Regions from separate parts of the Homo sapiens genome. Here region 1 is linked to region 2. Evidence: promoter capture Hi-C in human tissues and cell types (Jung and others, 2019). All regions are on one chromosome and are shown on one strand. The core of a region is centred on a gene start or on the middle of the fragment in contact, and the rest is flanking DNA. Distances in the headings are between cores, read along the strand shown.

The links. The method cuts DNA at HindIII sites, captures the fragments that hold promoters and counts their contacts. A contact is called where the count stands out against the background at its distance.
Region 1: a fragment that was not itself captured here is called in contact with the fragment with the promoter of SLC35B2 in region 2 in 1 of the 25 tissues and cell types used here (spleen).

The regions. Positions count from the first base shown.
Region 1 is chr6:43,358,569-43,361,545 of GRCh38, reverse strand. All of the region lies in intron 2 of ZNF318 (zinc finger protein 318), which reads left to right. Among named protein-coding and RNA genes, the nearest start is that of ZNF318, 9.6 kb to the left of the region's middle. The HindIII fragment of the contact is 8,687 bases long and covers 1-2,977 here.
Region 2 is chr6:44,256,099-44,259,167 of GRCh38, reverse strand. SLC35B2 (solute carrier family 35 member B2) reads left to right here and starts at 1,640. Exons shown (of 4, transcript NM_178148.4): 1 at 1,640-1,768; 2 at 2,290-2,483; 3 at 2,672-2,826. The coding sequence starts at 1,758. It overlaps NFKBIE (NFKB inhibitor epsilon), which reads left to right. Exons shown (of 6, transcript NM_004556.3): 6 at 1-1,002. RefSeq lists a silencer at 1,422-1,961 and an enhancer at 1,338-2,051. The HindIII fragment of the contact is 5,935 bases long and covers 1-3,069 here.

The DNA.
Region 1 (2,977 bases), core at 99-2,598, 900 kb after region 2:
TTGCCCAGCCTGGAGTGCAGTGGCGTGATCATAGTTCACTGTAACCTCAAACTCCTGGGCTCAAGTGGTCCTCCCAGCTCAGTCTAAAGAGTAGCTAGGACTATGGGCTGCACTGCCACACCTGGTGAATTAAAAAATAAATTTTTAGAAATTGGGTTTCTATCTATCTGTGTTGTCCAGGCTAGTCTCCTGACCCCAAGCAATCCTTCTGCCCTGGCCTCTCCAAGTGCTAAGATTACAGGTGTGAGCCATTGTGCCCAGCTTATCGCCTAATTTCTTCTCCTTATTCTGACAGATTGAAGGAGTGGGATTTTTTTCCCTCTGATTTTCTTTAGGGAATAGAAGCAAACAGCTTTCTTGGGGCATTTTTGGGACTCATCAACAGAAAAGAATGGAGAGTTTAGGCTCTGAAGGACCTTTTAAAATATGTATACATTTTTAACAGCTTTATCGAGATGTAATTTGTATACTATATAATTCACCCATTTGAAGTGTACAGTTCAGTGATTTTTCGCATATTCAGAGTTGTGCATCCCTCACTACAATCAATTTTAGAACATTTTTATTACACCAGAAAGAAGCTCTGTTCCTTTAGCCATTACTCCCTCCACCCTACCCCCAGCCATAGGCAATCACTAATCTACTTTCTGTCTCTATAGATTTGCCCGTTCTGGACATTTCATATAAATAGAATCATATAATATGTGGTCTTTTGTGACTGGCTTCTTTCACTTAGCATATTTTTTTTTAAGGTTCATCCGTGTTTGTAGCATTCCTTTTTATTGCTGATAATATTTTATTGTATGGATATACCATGTTTTGTTTATCCATTCATCAGTGGTGAATGAATGGATAACATTTTGATTCTTTTCACTTTTTGGCAATTATGATTAATGCTGCTCTGAACATTGGTATAAAAGTTTTTATATGGACATACATACATTTTTTAAAAACTTGTTTAACAGAGATTTGTAAACACAAAAATGTAGAATAGTACAGTGAAACCCCATGTCCTTATTACCTAACTCCAACAATCAGTTTTTTTAAATAGATAGACTTTATTTTAGAAAACAGTTGAACTTAACCAAGGCTTTCCGGGAGTATCCATCGCTGGACTCTTTCAGGGTATAGGAGATTGTACCCTTTTTAGGGTTCTTACTACAGCCAGTTCTCTTCTCATATCCTTTTGGAGTCCTGGGGAAGGAGGACATGAGCTTCTAATAAGCAACCTGATTTCTGCCTATATGTATGTGATAGCTTTTTTAAGAAAACTGTTTTTATGCCTTTTTTCTGTCTCTACTGGAGATTCCAAGTCTGGACTACAGCTTTTTGAGAGCCATCTCATTTGTAGCTTCTTGATAGTTAGTACTGGTTTAGACCTTGGGCTAGTATGCCGTTTCATGGTGACATGTAATAGTTCTGGTGGGGAGCTGAATGTGGGAGTGTGAATGAACTTGCCACTCCTCATGGAGCCTATGTTTTTTCTCCCTATACTAATATGGTCAGAGACTTTTTGTATGGTAGATGGTGTTTTGGCAATGGAGTGACTCAACTCATGAACATTCCTCTCTGGAAATAGGTGTGTTTATGGCTGACAGACCTATAGAGAAAAATTTTTACCTCAGTTTGATTTCAGAAATCATCCTTGGTTTATTCCCATTTATTCCTATTTCATACTGCATTGAAACCTCAAAATTTCCCAAATTCTTAGGAAGAAGGTGGGTAACAGAAACCTGGATTCCCACAGGTGGCATTCTTGTTAGAGAAGGTAAATAAAGTTTGTCCTTGATAACCTTTCATAAATTTATTCCTAGGTCTACAACTTTGATCAAAGGCAGGCTGGTGAATAAGAAAAGGCAATGTTTTGAGATTCTGCTGGCATAGTCTCAGAGATAGGAAAGCAACTACTAAAAAAACTAAGGAAAAGTCATTTCTAGAAACTCACAACAAAAGTAGCTACTAGAAACTGTAGAAGACACTAATAGTTACCATCCTCTAGATGATAATTCACTCTGGAATGTGAGTGACATGTAAGAACTTTTATTTTTTATTCAGAGTACTTAGAAGTTTTCATACATAAAGTGCTAGAGGATCTTTATTTCTATCTGTGATTTAAATCAGAAACTTTAGTTTTGTGTCATAGCCATAGCCCCTGAGAAGGTTAGCATTATTGGGTGTGGTATAGAATTCTCAGCTAAAAGAATAGCTGTCCCATCCTGGATTTTTACCTCATGCCACAAAGGTCTGAGACCTTTGTATTTAATGAAATAAAAATATATGGTGAACCAAACCATCACTTTCTCTTTTCTAAGCCCAAGATTAGCAGAGTGCTTGTAGATATCCAGAGAAGGCAAAGAGGGTGACAAAACAGGCTGTGAGAGAGCTTTATGGGTTTTAATATGTGAACCATCAAGGCAAAGCATTGGAGAACCTTCTAAATCTTATGAGAAAATCATGCTAATTAGATAAATCAGTAGTTTTTTTAAAAGTTACCATATAGTGATACTTTTTTTTCCCAATTGAATTATTAGAACCTTAATATACAGACTTAAAGTTGGAATTAGTGTGATTTAACTGGGATAGAAGGTCAAGAGCCCTGCTGGTTCTGCTTTTCTAGTACCTCCTTTCTTTTGGTAGCTCCTGAGCACTCTTTACAACCTCTGGAACACAGCTTTAAAACCATTTATCTGAGCCACGTGTGGAGGCTCACGCCTGTAATCCCAGCAGTTTGGGAGGCTGAGGCGGGCAGATCACCTGAGATCAGGAGTTCGAGACCAGCCTGGCCAACATGTGAAACCCCATCTCTACTAAAAAAATGCAAAAAGTCAGCCAGCATGGTGGTGCACACCTGTAATCCCAGCTACTTAAGGAGGTTGAGGCACAAGAATCACTTGAACCAGGGAGGTAGAGGTTGCAGTCAGCCGAGATCATGCCACTGCACTCCAGCCTGGGTGACAGAGCAAGACTCTGTCTTAAA
Region 2 (3,069 bases), core at 391-2,890:
GGAGCCATAACTGCTGCAGTTTGGGCCCAGGCTATGTGCTCTTCTGGTGCCCTAGGGACTGCTGTGGCCAGAGCCTGGGGCCAGCCAGTACAGTCCTGAGCCGAGGAGGAGGGACTGCAAGTGGAAGAGAGCCAGTCTGGAAGGAAGAGCTTTCCAGGTGGACAGGGCTTCTTGGAAGACCCCCAAAGCCCCAGGTATCCTGGGTGAAGCCTGTTTGCCTCTCTTGAAAATGGCAGGTGCTCTTGTTTTACCCATGTTGGGTCAGCCTGAAACTGCCAACCAGTAGGAAGCATGGACTCTCCTGAGTGAGAAGAGACTGAAATAGGAGCAAGCAGAACCCTGAGAGGTGTCCCATCTTATTGCTGTTGAGGACCCTGAAACACCGTTGTTTAAAGACTTCACACAGAAGGCTCTGAACTGAGCCACTGGGGAAGGGAAGTTTCAGTAACATGACACTAAAATGGCAGAGACGTTAAAAAAAGTTTTTCCCTTCTAGAGCTGTTTTGCGCGCATGCATGTCTGTGTGCATTGGGGCTTTTTAGACAGGCCTGCCCTGTGACTTTGTGGTAGAGGCAGAGAGAAGGAAATTGTCCCCTGAGCACGGTAGGGCCTTGCTGGGTGGGGTCAGAGGCCAGTAGTTCCAGGCCTTTCTCTGTGTCCAGCACAGACCCTTGTCCTTGCTGTGGAAATGATGAGGGATGGAGGGACAAGAGGAAGAATGAGAGGACACACGCCCTGGAGCCCTCACCACTGCCCTGGGGGTTGCCATCTGGAGGAGCCTGGGGATAAGGGTAACCCAGGGAGGCTGGGCACGAGGGAGCTGACTCCACGTTTTTCCCCCCGTTCCTCACCTTCGAGGGCCCTGCTAGGTCACCCCTATGCTGGCATGAAGAGCATGGGGCAATAAACCAGCACAGTCTCTGACCACTTGGAGCGTCTCATCCAGTGAGAGAGACAGCCGTTAAAAGCATAAACATCCAAATAAAGATGCCTTTCCAAGTTGCAGTGGGTGCTATGAAGGGAAAAGAATAGTGGGAAGGAAAAGGATGGAGTCGGTAGAGGGTCATACTTTGGGTGGTCCGGGAACCCTCGCCTGAGGAGTATCATCTCAACTGGGATGTAAGGATGAGTAAAGGGATGGGGGCAGAGCATTAGGGGGAAAGCCTGTGAATTAGAGGAACTGAGAGCAAGCCAGTGGGGCTTCACAGCGGGCGAGTGAGTGGGCGAGGAACGCGGGCGAGGCCATGTAGAGCCTCGAAGATCATGGGAAGTGGGACAGAATTACTACCCAGCCAACAAAGCAAGGAGACACCTTCATCCTGTCAGAAAACGGGGAAACTAACACAGAGGAGCGGCTTGGGATGCAGAGCCTCAATGTCCTGTCCACAAGATGGCAATGGTCACCATGACCTCTGGGACGCTTATGAAGGGCGATGACGAAGCACAGGGGACACGCCGGGCGGGCGCCTCTTCAGGGCTGGGGCTCCCCGCGCCCAGGGGCAGCCCAGGTCCCCGGAACCCAAGCCGCGTCTGCCTCCGGGCCGCGCGGGGGCGCTGTGGTCCGGCGGCGGCCCGGGGCGCTGCGTGGTCGCGGCAGGGGCGGAGGGGGCCGCGGGGAGGGAGGCGGGAAGAGCGCGGCACTTCCGCTGGCCGCTGGCTCGCTGGCCGCTCCTGGAGGCGGCGGCGGGAGCGCAGGGGGCGCGCGGCCCGGGGACTCGCATTCCCCGGTTCCCCCTCCACCCCACGCGGCCTGGACCATGGACGCCAGGTGGGGGCTAGGGCAGCAGCGAGCTCACGTGACCGAGCCCCCGGGCCACGTGACTGCCGCGCCTCAGCACGGGGGCCGGGTGGGGTCCCGGCTGCTCGGCCGTCGGCCAGCATATCGCTGCCCGGAGCCAGCGGGGATGGGAGCTGCGGCTTGGTTTTGTGCTCCTTGGGGAGCTTCGGGCGGAGGGGCTGGGGACCCTGACGTCCCGGATCGTGGAGGGGAGTGTGGGGGAAGGGGCGCTTCCTCTGACCTGAGCAGCCGGCTAGCGTTGGAGGGAACAGAGGAGACCTGTGTGGCCAGAGGGGCGGATCCGCCCCCGGGGAGGGAGGAAGCTCTGCCTGGCCAGCGCCGGCGCACCCCCTCCCCGAGAGAGAGAGAGAGAGAGAGGCTCTTTGTCCGGGCCGGAGCTGCAGCGGAGGGGGCGGGGAGGAGACTCCGGGCACTACTCCAGTGTGGTCCCCTCTGGAGGGCGGAGGGGATGAGGAGCTGCGCCCTAATCCTTATGTCCGCTTTCCTTACAGATGGTGGGCAGTGGTGGTGCTGGCTGCGTTCCCCTCCCTAGGGGCAGGTGGGGAGACTCCCGAAGCCCCTCCGGAGTCATGGACCCAGCTATGGTTCTTCCGATTTGTGGTGAATGCTGCTGGCTATGCCAGCTTTATGGTACCTGGCTACCTCCTGGTGCAGTACTTCAGGCGGAAGAACTACCTGGAGACCGGTGTGTGAAGAAAGGGCGGGGAAGTGAGCTAGGTCGGGAAAGAGGGTATTTGGCCAGCAGTCCAAACGGGATATGACTTGGAGAGGGCGGGAGGTCGGTAGGCCGGACAGCAGGGCAGGCTGGCTGCTCTGGGGAAGATGAAGTGCTATGGAGAAGATTTGGGGCTTGACTTTGTGTGCTTTCTTCAGGTAGGGGCCTCTGCTTTCCCCTGGTGAAAGCTTGTGTGTTTGGCAATGAGCCCAAGGCCTCTGATGAGGTTCCCCTGGCGCCCCGAACAGAGGCGGCAGAGACCACCCCGATGTGGCAGGCCCTGAAGCTGCTCTTCTGTGCCACAGGGCTCCAGGTGGGTAGGTGGGCTCAGCCTCTCTTCCTGGGTTGGATGCCGGTGGGCAGGGATTCTGTGAAGGTTTCCATTTTACCAGTCCCAGAGCTTTGCTGGCTGGTGTGTTTCGTGTCCTCCTCCCAGGGGCACACTGCACCTCCATCTTTGAGGTGTTTGGGGGAAATGCCCTTTTGTTTCTTCCTTTTCTCCTCTCCAGCACTGGTACTGAAAGTTCATGCTGTTATTTCAAGATGTCTAGTGCAG